Linked DNA regions of Homo sapiens: all the other regions are linked to region 1. Evidence: promoter capture Hi-C in 16 types of primary human blood cells and fetal thymus (Javierre and others, 2016). All regions are on one chromosome and are shown on one strand. The core of a region is centred on a gene start or on the middle of the fragment in contact, and the rest is flanking DNA. Distances in the headings are between cores, read along the strand shown.

Region 1 (3,195 bases), core at 404-2,903:
GGTAAAGGCCATAGGCAGTCAGCATCCCCTTTCTGGCCCTGAAGAGCTTCTCAGCATCTTTTTCTTCAATAAACAAGAAATATAAAGTCCTACAGTGCTTTACAGACTTCCCTTATTTACGAACTAAAGAGATACTAAGTGGCAGGGTTAAATGGGGGCACCCTACCCTCTGGCCCTGCAGGGACAGACAGACAGTGAGGCCGGCACCCAGGCATCCAGGAGCTGGGGCTGACAGCCAGAGTGGAGGGCCTAGGCTCAGAGGACAGGGGCCAGGGGTGGGAGTCAAGGGTTAGGGTTTGGGAATTCTGCAGGCTCAAGGCCCAGGCTTTAAGACCAGGATTCAGGATTCAGGATTCAGGGGCAGGAGCTTGTTGGAGGAAGGGGCCAAGGATGGGATCTAGGAACCAGAGTTAGGGGCAGGGTCCAGAATTGGGTTTGGGGCCTGATTCTGGAACCAGGGTTCCAGGTTCAGGGGTCAAGGACAAGTGTTCAGGGCCATAAGCTGGGGCCTGAGGTTGAAATTCAGGGTTCAGAGTCAGGCTAGATTGGCTTTAGAGGCAAAGGGCCACAGTATGAAGGCTGGGATTCTAGGGCTAGAATTCAGTGATTGGGGAACAGGGACAGGAGGTTGGGGCCACAGCCCTGTGTCAGAAGTTCCTGGGTTAGGGTTTGTGGTTATGTTTCAGGGTTTGGGGTCCAGGGCTCAGGGACCAGAGACAGACGTTTGAGAGCAGGTTCTGTAACCAGAGTTCTGCAGTCAGGATTTGTGGTTCCAGTGACCATGGACCTGGGGTTCAGGGCCAGGGTTGGGGATGGGCATTCCAGGGCCAGGGTTCTGAGGATTCGGAAATCAGGGCTGGGGCTGGGTTTGGTGCGCACAGACCCGGTTTCTGGGGTTTGGGTTCCAGGAACTGTTAACAGGGGTTCTGACAGGGTTTTAATATTGGAGTTTCGAGGTCAGGATTTGCAGACAGGAGTTCAGAGGCAGGGTCCCAGGGTCAACGGTCAGCTGCTGGAGTCTGGAGGATGGGGTTCGGGGATTCAGGGCCCAGGTCTTCAGGTCTCGGGCTTGGGGATCAAGACAGGGGTCTGGGCTCCCAGACTTGGGAATCAGGACAGGAGTCTGGGGTCCCGGGTACAGGGATCAGAGTCTGGGGCCTCTGGGTCTGGAGGTTCACGGTCCAGGGTCCAAGGCTTGCAGTTCGGGACCCCGGGGTCAGGGTCGGGGGTTCCGGGCTTGGGGCCTGCCGCCGGCACGGGGGACTTACGTCGTCGAAGAGCGAGCCCACGTTGGCCGTGACCAGCAGCACCGCGGTGCCCGGGGCGGCCGCCTTCCCCGCCATGGTGCCCGGGCGGCGCGGGCGCTGGGCTGGGCGGCGGCGGCGGCGGCCGCTTCCTCCGGGACCGGCCGGCCGGGGTCTTCGCGGGGCCGCGGGGCGTCAGCTGCGCCGGGGGGCGGCCCCGGGGCGCATCGCGGGCTCGGCGGGTCGGCCGGGCCTGGCCGGGGCTCCGGCCTCGCGCTCGCTCGCTCGCTCGCTGCTCCGCGGCCCCGCGCCCGTCGCTCGCCGCCGCGCCTCACAGCGGCCCGCGCGCAGCCATTAGATCCGCTGGGAAAGTTCCCGCAGCCGCCGCCGACTCAGGCTGAGGGCAAGTCCCGCCCCGCGGAGCCGAGCCCGGGGCGGGGCCTGGGCGGGGCGGAGCCTGACTCGGGGTGGGGCCTGTGCGGGGTGGAGCCGGGCCTGGGGCGGAGCCTTGCTGGGGGCGGAGCCTTGAGGTGCGGAGCCTGAGTTGGGCCTAGATCTGAACAGAGTGGGGCGGGGCCTGCGGGGGGCGTGGCTTGTGCGGGACTTGGTGTCCTTGTGGAGGCGGGGCCTGCCCCGGGGCGGGGCCTCCTTTCGGGGCGGGGCCTACGCGGGGCGCTCTTGCGACCGGCGGCCTAGTACTGGTCGCTCCCGGAGGGCGCTCCTGTCAGTCAGGCCCGCAAGAACGCCGCGCCCCCGCCCCGCCCCCCGCGCCGCGGCTGCGCACAGACTCCGCCCTTCGCACTTCTATGACGTCACGGCCCTGCTCCGGCGGCGCCTCTTAAAGGGGCCCTGGGTTCCGGGCGCCGGCGGCGGGTGCGCTCTCTTGCGGCTCTGAGGGGATGTTCCAGCCCCCGCGCGGCCGCAGTCGTCCAGCCGCGTGCCGGGCGTGCGGGGGAGGGGAGCCCACCGGGGCGGCGGCAGTCGCGCCTGCAGGGGCCGGGCCACGCGCGCCCGGCTCTCCGCGCAGACGGAGCGTGGACCGTGCAGCTTCCCGGCGCGTCCACCCGGCTCCCTGGCCGCGACCTCACTCACGAGGAGCGGCTGCGGCCCAGAGAAGACGGAGGGGAGGCGGCGTGAGGCCAGGCGCATCCTGACGTCGCGGAGGGCTCCGGCCCGGGCCAGGCTGGGTCTCAGCGCGGGGCGTGCAGGGAACCCTCGCAGGGACGAAGGGGGCTCCAGGGGAGGGGGCTGGTGCGGGCCCAGGAGCGCAGAGCACGGAGGAGCAGCCGGCTCGGCGCGGGCCCCGGGGCAGCGATGCTGATCCTGGCCGCCGGAGGGGCCAGAGCATGGGCTGGACCCTGGGTCTGAGGCCGCGGGGACACAGCCGCCGTGAACCGGGACATGCCTGTAGATGGAGGAGGAGAACCACATTTGTCATCTTAAAGCTTCCAGTAGCTACATTTTTTAAAGGTAACAAGTAATAGCCAAAGTTAACAATACGTTTTACTTAACCCAATAGATAGATACATCATTCAACATGTAACCAGAATTTAACAACCTCAGTGAGATTCCTTCACAGGAAGGCTTTGCACGGGCACCTGCCTCTTGGCAGCAGCTCACAAGGCCGCTTCCAGTGCTCAGCAGCCCTGTGTGGCCAGTGGCCACCATGCGGAGCAGGCACTCCGGAGGATTTTGTGGACACAGATTTAGGGGCGGTCAGGGCCTGGCAATGGGCTCTAGCGAGGCTAGCCTCCAGCTTCTGAGTAAACCGCCAAGGCAATGCCCAATGACATCAAAAGGGGCTTGTTCTGTTCTAGGAAGACACCTGCTGCCAGGGCGGGGCGGCAGGAATGGTGCTGCAGGCTCGGGCCCCAGGCCTGTGCTGAGGCCGCATCACTGGCTTGTGTTAACACCCCCAGGGTTCCTCCTTACGGCCACCGCTGAGCAGGAC
Region 2 (3,195 bases), core at 288-2,787, 850 kb before region 1:
CCAAAGCACTAGGATTACAGGTGTGAGCCACTGCCCTCAGCATCATAGTTAAGTATTTTACAAGGATGTCTTTATCTTTTAGAAACAGGCACCAAAATATCCTGAGGTGAGACAATGTCCTGTGTGAGTCATGCTTAATAAAAAAGGGCGGGGGTGGGCGGGGAGAAGCTTGGCTTAGGGGAAGCCTGGTGGGCACTGAAAGGTTCTCCCTACTTTAGTATGTTTGACATTTTGCACAGGAAATGTATCTCAAAACGTGGTAGCAGAAACATGTTTTTAGAGATGCAGTAAACTTAGCGATGAGAATCAGCTGGGAGCACCGTCTGAGAAGGGCAAAAGGGGCTCCACCTGCCATTTTGGTTTTATTTTCTTTTGTTAGCACTGCAGAATTCTCTGACTTTTTAAGCTGTGTGTGTATAATTCTCACAAAAACAGTACATTTAAAAATTATTCTTAGTTTCAAAAAGAAAATGGCTTCCGAGTCTGGGATCCCAGCCCACCCGCCACTGGCTGGTGCTCCTGCAGCGCCCAGACTCGGCGGGGGCCTCTGCAGCGGGACCCACGCCCCCCGACTGGGGCACGCCACATACCTGGGCGCCGGCGCCGTCTGCAGGGAGGGGCTGAGCCAGCAGGTCCAGGTCGCCCCCAGTACTGCCCACGGCCACGTAGCTGTAGGACCCCCTAGTGTACGGGGCGCTGTGCCAGCGAGACCGCAGGACGCTCTTGGGCGCGGGGAGCCGTGGGTTTCCTGAGCCACAGAGACACTGCATGTTAACCGAGAACTCTCACCCACAGGTCTGCAACTGTTTTTGTCATTTTTAAAGATTGAGCAGTTTAACGTGAAAGATGCTATGCAGGAAGAAAAGTGAGCAGCAGAGTGTGTCAGGAGAGGCTCTTCCTGCCGCCTCTGACCCGAGAGCAGTGGGCTGGGACCCGGGGGCCTCTGACCCGACAGCAGCGGGCCGGGACCCGGGAGCTGTGACAGCAGCAGCTACTGTTTCCGAGCCTTGGGTTCCTCCTCTGTAAAAATCTGATCAAGGACAACGGCATTTATTTTGGTGGCAGAAGTAGGAAGTGTTTGCAAAGTCATTTCAGTTCCTCGGAGGTAAGAACTGTTACTGACCCCACTAACATGAGGAAGGATGGTCCCTGGAGATGTACAGAGTCAGCCAAATTTAGTTTTTCTCTGTTCTGCAAAGTCTAGTTTCTGTTTAGAGATCAACCAGTAACGAGCAGAGGCAGGAACCAGCGTGTGTGGTGAGTACCTACCTGTCACTCTCCGGAGCACTTGGGTGAGACACAGAAGTACTTCTTCATCCGACAGAGTCTCCATGAACTCAGACTCAAGTCCGGCAATGAACCCACAGAGAACGTGGACAGACCTGCATGGAGAAAGAGAGCCCTGGGATGACCAGACCTGCATGGAGAAAGAGAGCCCTGGGATGACCAGACCTGCATGGAGAAAGAGAGCCCTGGGATGACCAGACCTGCATGGAGAAAGAGAGCCCCGGGATGACAGTGTCCAGCCCAGCTCTCCGCCCGCGTTTCTCAGCAAGGAACCACTGATGGAGCAGGGGCCCCAGAGGCACAAAGAGCCACCCCACAGAGCGTCCCTCAGGCAGCAGTTCGCAGAGTGTGGGCGGCAAAGTCCTGGGGGTCCGAAGGCCCTGCCAGGGACCCTCAAGGTCACAGCCATCTTCAGACGCTAAGACAGCATTTGCTGTTTCCACCACGCCGACATTTGCACCTGAGCAAGAGCCAGGGCAGGTAAACCGTCCCTTAGCAGAATCAGGCAGCAACAGGATCCACATGCGCCTACAGGCGTTCCCACCACTGCACATGAGGGTTACAAAATGCTGCTTTTTGCAGCCGTCAAAGAACGAGATCATGTCCTTTGCAGGGACATGGATGGAGCTGGAGGCCATTATCCTTAGCAAACTAACACAGGAACAGAAAAGCAGACAGCACATGTTTTCCCTTTCAAGTGGGAGCTAAATGATGAGAACACACACTGGGGCCTATGGGAGAGTGGAGGATGGGAGGAGGGAGAGGAGCAGGAAAAATAACTAATGGGTACTAGGTTTAATTCCTGGGTGATAGAACTAATCTGTACAACAAGCCCCCATGATACACGGTTAGCTACATAACAAACCTGCACGTATATCCCTGCCTCTGAATATAAAAATTAAAATATATATATTAAAAAATAAATAAAAATGCTGCTTTCACTTGAGAATGTCCTTGATCAAAGGCAGTAAAAGTTACTAATTTTATTAAATCTTGATCCTCGAGTTCATGTCTTTTTAATAATCTGCGTGGAGGGCCAGGCACAGTGGCTCAGGCCTGTAATCCCAGCACTTTGGGAGGCCAAGGCGGGCGGATCACGAGGTCAGGAGTTCGAGACCAGCCTGGTCAATATGGTAAAGCCCTGTCTAATAAAAATACAAAAATTAGCCAGGCGTGGTGGCGGGCACCTGTAGTCCCAGCTACTCGGCAGGTTGAGGCAGGAGAATGGCATGAACCCGGGAGGTGGAGGTTGCGGTGAGCCAAGATCGCGCCACTGCTCTCCAGCCTGGGCGACAGAGTAAGACTCCATCTCAAAAAATAATAATAATCTGCGTGGAGAAGCGGGATCCGCATAGAACACTCCTGCTGCGCGTGGTGCACGGTGGCCGTGGAGGACTCACCTAGCACACGCTATTCCAGGCGGGGCTGGTGCGTCTTTCACAGACAGGCTCAGAACTCAGGAGAGCACCAGTCAGACAAATCATGGTGTGGTATTTGGTGACATTTTCTTGAAAATGAGCAAAGTGTCTCTATCACAGGAAAACAACTAACAAATAGTATTTATAGACAATGACAAAGTTTAAGCTCTCAAGCAAAAACTGCAATTTTAGAAAAGCTTGTTTCTGCCACCAACAGCATAACAGCTTCCCAATCCTGAAAGACTTTTCTGAGATCAGTGGTATGTTAATAAATTTGATTTTTTATATTGTATAATGAAATGTATCAACATTTGGAAGACTACATGAACCAATATATATATATTTTATTTTTTTAAGACATGGCCTCCCTCTGTTGCCCAGGCTGGAGTTCAGTGGCTTGATCACAGCTCACTGCAACCTCCGCCTCCTGGGCTCAAGCAATCCTCCCACCTCAGCCTCCCAGTAGCTGGGACCACAGGCACGCACCACC
Region 3 (3,195 bases), core at 361-2,860, 830 kb before region 1:
GTACAGAAACCTTACAGGGGCTTTTCTTGTTTTTCCTGTTATGTGAGGTCTGTGAATTGCACCCTCAAGCAGCTCCTTTATTGAAAATGCAGTTTCAGCCGGGTGGGTGTCGAGCATCCGTAGCCCCAGCTTCCTGGGAGGCTGAGGCGGGTCGTTCGAGTCCAACTGGGCAGCAAAGCAAGACCCCGTCTCAAAAAAAAGACTTTTTTAAAAAATGAGGCCGGGCGCGGTGGCTCACCCTGTAATCCCAGCACTTTGGGAGGCTGAGGCGGGTGGATTGCCTGAGCTCAGGAGTTTGAAACCAGCCTGGGCAACATGACGAAACCCGTCTCTACTAAAAATCCAAAAAATTAGCCGGGCGTGGTGGCAGGTGCCTGTAATCCCAGCTACTCTGGAAGTTGAGGCAGGAGAATCGCTTGAACCCAGAGGCGGAGATTACAGTGAGCCGAGATCACGCCACTGCACTCCAGCCTGGGAGACAGAGTGAGACTCTGTCTGAAAAAAAAAATGTAACTCATTTTACCCATGTTTTTTTAGATCATTCCAATTATTTGGAATAGGCTCAAATGTATTCTAATAAGATAAGCTGAAGCTTTAGAGCAATATTTTATAAGATTTCTGCCAGTAACTTAAAGTAATTCCTCTAATTACCATCATAATTTTAATTTTCTTCCCTTTGAGGCAGAGTCTTGCTCGGTCGTCCAGGCTGGAATGCAGTGGTGAGATCTCAGCTCACTGCAACCTCCACCTCCTGGGTTCAAGTGATTCTCCTGCTTCAGCCTCCCGAGTAGCTGGGATTACAGGTGCCCACCACCACACCTGGCTAATTTTTGTATTTTTAGTAGAGACAGAGTTTCACCATGTTGGCCAGGCTGGTCTTGAACTCCTGACCTCAAGTGATCTGCCTGCCTCGGCCTCCCACAGTGCTGGGATTATAGGCGTGAGCCACTGCACCCGGCCAGATTACCATTTTAATTCATGTCTTTCACTGGGAGAAAGTCATACTTCGGTGTTTTAATTGTTCTATAAAATAAAAATTAAAAGTGGTTTGGGCACCTGAGGAAGGGGTACAGATGCGTGTGTGTGTGTGTGTGTGTGTGTGTGTGCGCGCGCGCACACCTGGGGACACACGTGCACACAGTGTAAGAAAAGCAGATGCAGAGTTGAGTTCTCACGTCCTACTCCAACACAGAGTAGCCCCTGATACAGGCCACCCATCATCCAGTTGATGACATGGTGAGTGACCAAGATGGGTGCATCTGAGGCTCTTTAGATGTGAGCTTGTTGGACATACACAGTGGCTCCTGAATGACCGTCACCTAGACTGGTAGAGAGAGGCCGTGAAAATCCCCGCGCCCAGGCCCAGCTCTGATTGGGCAGGTGTTCCTGCCGCTGAGTCCCCTCCCCGGCCCCCTGGGCCCCTGTGAGCATGAGTGAGGCAGAGCCAGGGAGAGACGGGCGGACATTGGCATCAGGCTCTGTGAGGATACTGCGCGTCCAGCTCTGTTTCTGTTCCTTTTCCTGCCAGGATGACCGGAAAGAAGGGATGACCGCGTTTGTGGAAAAGAGAAAGGCCAACTTCAAAGACCAGTGAGAACCAGCTGCCCCTGCTTCACACCTCTGCTTGGAGAGGACAAGTGCAGCCTGTCAGTTTTAGAAGCAAGTAAATCATCCTCTTTTCAAGAGCAGTGTCCGTGGTGTGCAGTTCCTCTCCAATTGCTGCGTGGTCGTGGCCCGACCTCTCACGGCATGACAGCCTTCGTCACCCAGCCTGTGAGGGTCCTGACTGGAGCACCTTCTAAATCTAAGATTCTGCTGAGGAGCCCCCGCTGGTCCCTCTGGGCATGCTGTGCTCGGACGGAAAGCGGGGCCTGCGGGTCCTTGTGTCCCTGCCGCTGAAGAATGGGGCTGCTCTGAGGGAAACGCTGTCTGCTGCCTTCATACAGATGCTGATTAAAGTGATAGCGATTCAGATTACACCACGCCTTGTAGTCATGTCTGCAATGAGCATTCTGTCATGTTAGTTGTTTTTTTAAACTTTTTTGTTTTTTCACTGTAAGGAACAACATTCAAACAAAACAAGTTTGTATAGTCAGTTGCCTCACATCATACTTCCAGGGTAGCCACTGTGAACAGCTGGGCTTGTGACTTCCTAGAGTTCTGTGCACGCACCCACACACCCCTGCACACGGGCACAGGCATGGTCTATGGTTTTCTTCCACGCCCACTCACGTCGAGCCCTTTCCTCACGAGAGCCCACCCTATTTTCTTCCTACTTCTGTCATAAGGAGCTCTCTGTTCAGTTTACTGCATTCTTCTCTACTGTGGGAACACACGACGTCAACTTGATCATCTTAACCACTGTGTTTTAGAGACGGGCTGGAGTGCGTGGCTCAGTCACAGCTCACTGCAGCTTGAATCTCCTGGGCTCAAGTGATCCTCCCCCCCTCCCAAGTAGCTGGGACCACAGGGGCGCACTCCCACACCCAGCTGACTGTTTAAATTTACCTTTTGTAGAGACGGGGTTTCCCCGTGTTGCCCAGGCTGGTCTGAACCATTTCAAATGCACATTTCAGCGGCATTAAGTACGTTCTCGTTGTGCAGCCATGACTATCCAAGAAAGCTTTCATTTTCCCAAACGGAAACTGTCCCCGTTAAACAACAACCCCTTTTCTGCTTCCCTCCAGCTCCTGGCACCCACGCTTCTACTTCCTGTCTCTATGGAGGGACCTCCATTTATCCCTTTGGGTCAGGCTCATTTCACTCAGCCCCACCCCAAATCCCTGGGTTGAAATCCTAACCCCTACCGTGACTGCATTAGGAGGGGGGACTTTGGGCAATGACTAGTCACAAGGGCAGAGCTCTTCGAGTGGGTTTAGTGTCCTAGGAGAGAGAGGGTGGAGCTCCTCCAGTGGGATTAGTGCCCTATGAGGGGGCGGAGCTCCTCCAGTGGGATTAGTGCCCTATGAGGGCAGAGCTCTTCAAGTGGGATTAGTGCCCTATGAGGGGGCAGAGCTCTTTGGGATTAGTGCCCTGTGAGAGGGCGGAGCTCTTTGAGTGGGATTAGTGCCCTATGAGAGGGCGGAGCTCCTTCAGTGGGATTAATGCCCTAAGAGAAGGCAGAGCTCTTCCAGTGGGATTAGTGCCCTATGAGAGGATGGAGCTCTTCCAGTGAGATTAGTGCCCTATGAGAGG
Region 4 (3,195 bases), core at 303-2,802, 560 kb after region 1:
TGAGGAGGGGGAGGAACATGAGAGGGACGCGAAATGAGATTAGGAAGGAGGGCTTTTCTTGCAGCAGCAACAGCAGCACCTTTCCGTCTGGGGCCTAATTATACTACAGTGATTTGAAGTGTAAACTGCTTGTGATTATGAGCAAGTTTTCTAAGGTTATTAAGCAACCTTACTGTAAGCCCATCTTTCTTTGAAAAGGTGAACGATCCGAGTGGAGAACTGTAACACGTGAGTAGATACACAGCACGCTCCATTCTCCAGGAAGTGCCTTCCTTTCCTACGCGGTTGCTGTGGGTTAATAATAAAACTCCTGTCCCTTAGTAAATCATTCCTGGGAATACAGCTTTTGGGCCCAAAGTCATTAGCCATGGACAATCTGGAGTGAGTTTTTTTTCCTTGTTTCCTGGATTTTTAGGTCCTTTCTGGGGTGATGTTTAAAAAGCACTGCTTTGGTTCGAATGTGTTCCTCCATGTTGCCAGTGGGATGGTAGTAAAAGGTGGGCCTTTAAGAGGTGGCTCGGCCATAGGGGCTCCTCTCTAGTGAATGGGATTAGTGCTCTAAGGGGCTGGATGGAGGGAGGTGGGTCCCTCTGTAGCCTCATTGAAGGGATGAGGCAGGAAGGCCCTCAGCCGACACCAGATGTTGGTGCGTGGATCTTGGACTTCCCAGCCTCCAGAACAGAGATCAGTTTCTGTTCGTAAATCACTAAGTCTGTGGGATTCTGTTGCAGTAGCGCAGAGGATGACAGAGATACACTTGTCTCTCCTTCATCTTCCTCTCCCTGTTGTCTTCAGCCTGCCCCTTGTGTGATAGATTACAGTATGTGTTTGGTCTTGACCCTACCTACTTCCTGGTGCAGAGCACCTAAACCCCTGGGGCTTCCTGAGCAGTGTCTTTTTTTTTTGTTTGAGACACAGAGTTTCGCTATTGTTGCCCAGGCTGGGGGGCAGTGGCATGATCTCGGCTCACTGCAACCTCCCCCTCTCAGGTTCAAGGGATTCTTCTGCCTCAGCTTCCCGAGTAGCTGGGATTACAGGCGCCCACCACGCCCAGCTAATTTTGTATTTTTAGTAGAGACGGGGTTTCACCATGTTGGTCAGGCTGGTCTCTGACTCCTGACCTCAGATGATCTGCCCGCCTCGGCCTCCCAAAGTGCTGGGATTACAGGCATGAACCGCTGTGCCAATAAGTGTCTTAAGCATGTTTATTAAAGAAAGTAAAACAGTAAAAAGATGGTGACTCCATAGGCAGAACAACCTGACCAGTGTGTGCGTTATTCATAAAGTCACCCTATTAGCAGTGTACTCCAAAAGTGCTCCTTGGTTAACCATTTTTGGTGTAAGTTGTAAGGAGCCCCTTCAGAATACACTGCTAATACAGTGGCTCAAGGGTGGCCCCAGGATAGTTACTTGAGGTAGAAATTCCCAGGGCAGCCCCTCCTAGGAGGGGAGGGGACTGGAGATGGAGATGGGGGAGCCATGAGGTGCGGGTAGCATGGTTGGGGTTAGGGTTGGGACATGTGGGGTAAGTGGGAGTCTGGTTGCAGAGAGTGTGGTTGGGGTTAGGGTTGGGACGTGTGGGGTAGGTGGGGATCTGGGCTGTATGTCATTTCCATTTGTCTGCCCTGGAATTGTTTCTGGTAAACTGATAAATGTAAGTAAAGAGTTTTTCTGAGTTCTGTGAATTGTAGTAAATTACTGAACCTGAGGCAGGTGTGTGGGATCCCCTGAGTAGGTAGAGGCACTGGCAGAAATACGGGTAACCTGGACACCCCATTCTCTGCTTGCATCTGTGGGAACAGTCTTGTGGGCTCCACACTAAGTCTAGGTAGATAGAATGGAATTGAATCGTTGGACACCCCGGTGGTGGTGACTTGGTGTCCCACATTTGATGTTAAGAGTGGCATCAGAGAAGAGACACCACACCTTCAAGTTGCATTTGTGTTCCATATCGTCAGATAGCTGAACAACACTTTAGTCAAGTAAATTGAAGCAGGCCCAGAATCTGAATACTGTAGATTCAGCGGAGAAAGACAGCTGGCCAAAACAGAGGCTGTGGTGCCGTTCTCTCAGGGGCAGGCCATGGCTAGCCGGCCGCATGGCATCTTGAACCGCAGAGAGGGAAGGAGGGCTAGTGAACATCAGAGTACTTGGCAATACTGTCTGGTCAGATGAGCGGCTTCAGGAATGGTGTGGTCTGTACATCTCAGAAGGCACCATGTAGCCTCTGCCAGAGTGTGGGGCAGACTGGCCTGGGCCTTTCTCCTCCATTGAGCTCCAGGCTCCGAGACAGACCCTGGCTTGCCTTTGTATTAGGGATGTGCTTCGTGTAGGCCAGGACATGAGGCAACGTGAGAGGCCAAAGAGAACAATCATGCGTTCATTTGAAAATTTGTGTGATCATTTCGTTAGCAGCTTACTGGGAGACTGTTGATGGCATAAGTTGCAAATCCACTTTTCCTTCCTGGGCCTTCGGTTTGCTTTTTTCTGGTTAATATGAAATAGACTCTGCAACAAGTGGCGTATGGAGCCTAGGCCAGCCCTCTTTCAGGAGAGATGCCTCGTGTGTGTGGAAAGCTGTGCACCTGCCTTTGCTTCCAGCGAACATGACGGATGAAGAGGCTGCTCCTTTCCCCCTAATTGCATGGTGTTATTAGTGCTGTGTTGGTTTAAGGACAGTCAGCAGCTCAGGGTGATTATTCTGCTTACTAAAATTATAGTGACTGCAAAAATGAGATAATTCCATTGTTCTCGTCCATAAGTTTCCCTGTCTTTTGTGGCCTGCACTTTCCTCCCACTGCACTCCATCCTCCATACGCTACCAGAGGAAGCTCCTACCAGATTTGCTTTAAATAAATAAACCTATGACACAAAGTAGAGAGATTATCTGGGGCCCAGAAATAGACGTGTGCCTATATGCACGCTTGATTTCTGACACAGGAAGCAGCCAGCGCAGAGTGAGGCGGGAGCTGTCTGCAGTAAATGGGGCATCCGTCTCACATCAATGGGAAAATTAATCCATGTAGATTTTGGATCTAAATGTGACTGTCATAACAGTAGAGCTGTGTGAAAATAATAGAATAGAATATCTCAGCTCAGGAAGGGATTGCTGCATTTGACTGAATTAAAATCAAGAACTTCTGTACATCAGAAGACATCAGAAGTGAAAAGAACAAGCTACCGAGGGAAAGTTAC

What was found. The method cuts DNA at HindIII sites, captures the fragments that hold promoters and counts their contacts. A CHiCAGO score of 5 or more calls a contact.
Region 2: a fragment that was not itself captured here is called in contact with the fragment with the promoter of INPP5A in region 1 in 7 of 17 cell types (fetal thymus, naive CD8 T cells, total CD8 T cells and 4 more); the score reaches 7.9 in fetal thymus.
Region 3: a fragment that was not itself captured here is called in contact with the fragment with the promoter of INPP5A in region 1 in 1 of 17 cell types (neutrophils); the score reaches 5.2 in neutrophils.
Region 4: a fragment that was not itself captured here is called in contact with the fragment with the promoter of INPP5A in region 1 in 4 of 17 cell types (total CD4 T cells, activated CD4 T cells, non-activated CD4 T cells and 1 more); the score reaches 6.6 in total CD4 T cells.

The regions. Positions count from the first base shown.
Region 1 is chr10:132,536,245-132,539,439 of GRCh38, reverse strand. It overlaps INPP5A (inositol polyphosphate-5-phosphatase A), which reads right to left and starts at 1,653. Exons shown (of 16, transcript NM_005539.5): 1 at 1,269-1,653. The coding sequence starts at 1,343. LOC107984282 (a long non-coding RNA gene) reads left to right here and starts at 2,517. Exons shown (of 4, transcript NR_158224.1): 1 at 2,517-2,714. RefSeq lists an enhancer at 703-752 and a silencer at 1,533-2,632. The HindIII fragment of the contact is 3,408 bases long and covers 1-2,691 here.
Region 2 is chr10:133,387,143-133,390,337 of GRCh38, reverse strand. PAOX (polyamine oxidase) reads right to left here. Exons shown (of 7, transcript NM_152911.4): 5 at 1,270-1,382; 6 at 591-748. Among named protein-coding and RNA genes, the nearest start is that of MTG1, 5.4 kb to the left of the region's middle. RefSeq lists silencers at 450-529, 1,119-1,413, 1,670-1,827 and an enhancer at 1,580-1,709. The HindIII fragment of the contact is 2,734 bases long and covers 171-2,904 here.
Region 3 is chr10:133,361,267-133,364,461 of GRCh38, reverse strand. ECHS1 (enoyl-CoA hydratase, short chain 1) reads left to right here. Exons shown (of 8, transcript NM_004092.4): 8 at 1,529-1,977. The coding sequence ends at 1,594. Among named protein-coding and RNA genes, the nearest start is that of FUOM, 4.8 kb to the right of the region's middle. The HindIII fragment of the contact is 2,031 bases long and covers 595-2,625 here.
Region 4 is chr10:131,974,986-131,978,180 of GRCh38, reverse strand. All of the region lies in intron 1 of BNIP3 (BCL2 interacting protein 3), which reads left to right. Among named protein-coding and RNA genes, the nearest start is that of BNIP3, 5.3 kb to the left of the region's middle. The HindIII fragment of the contact is 4,564 bases long and covers 1-3,195 here.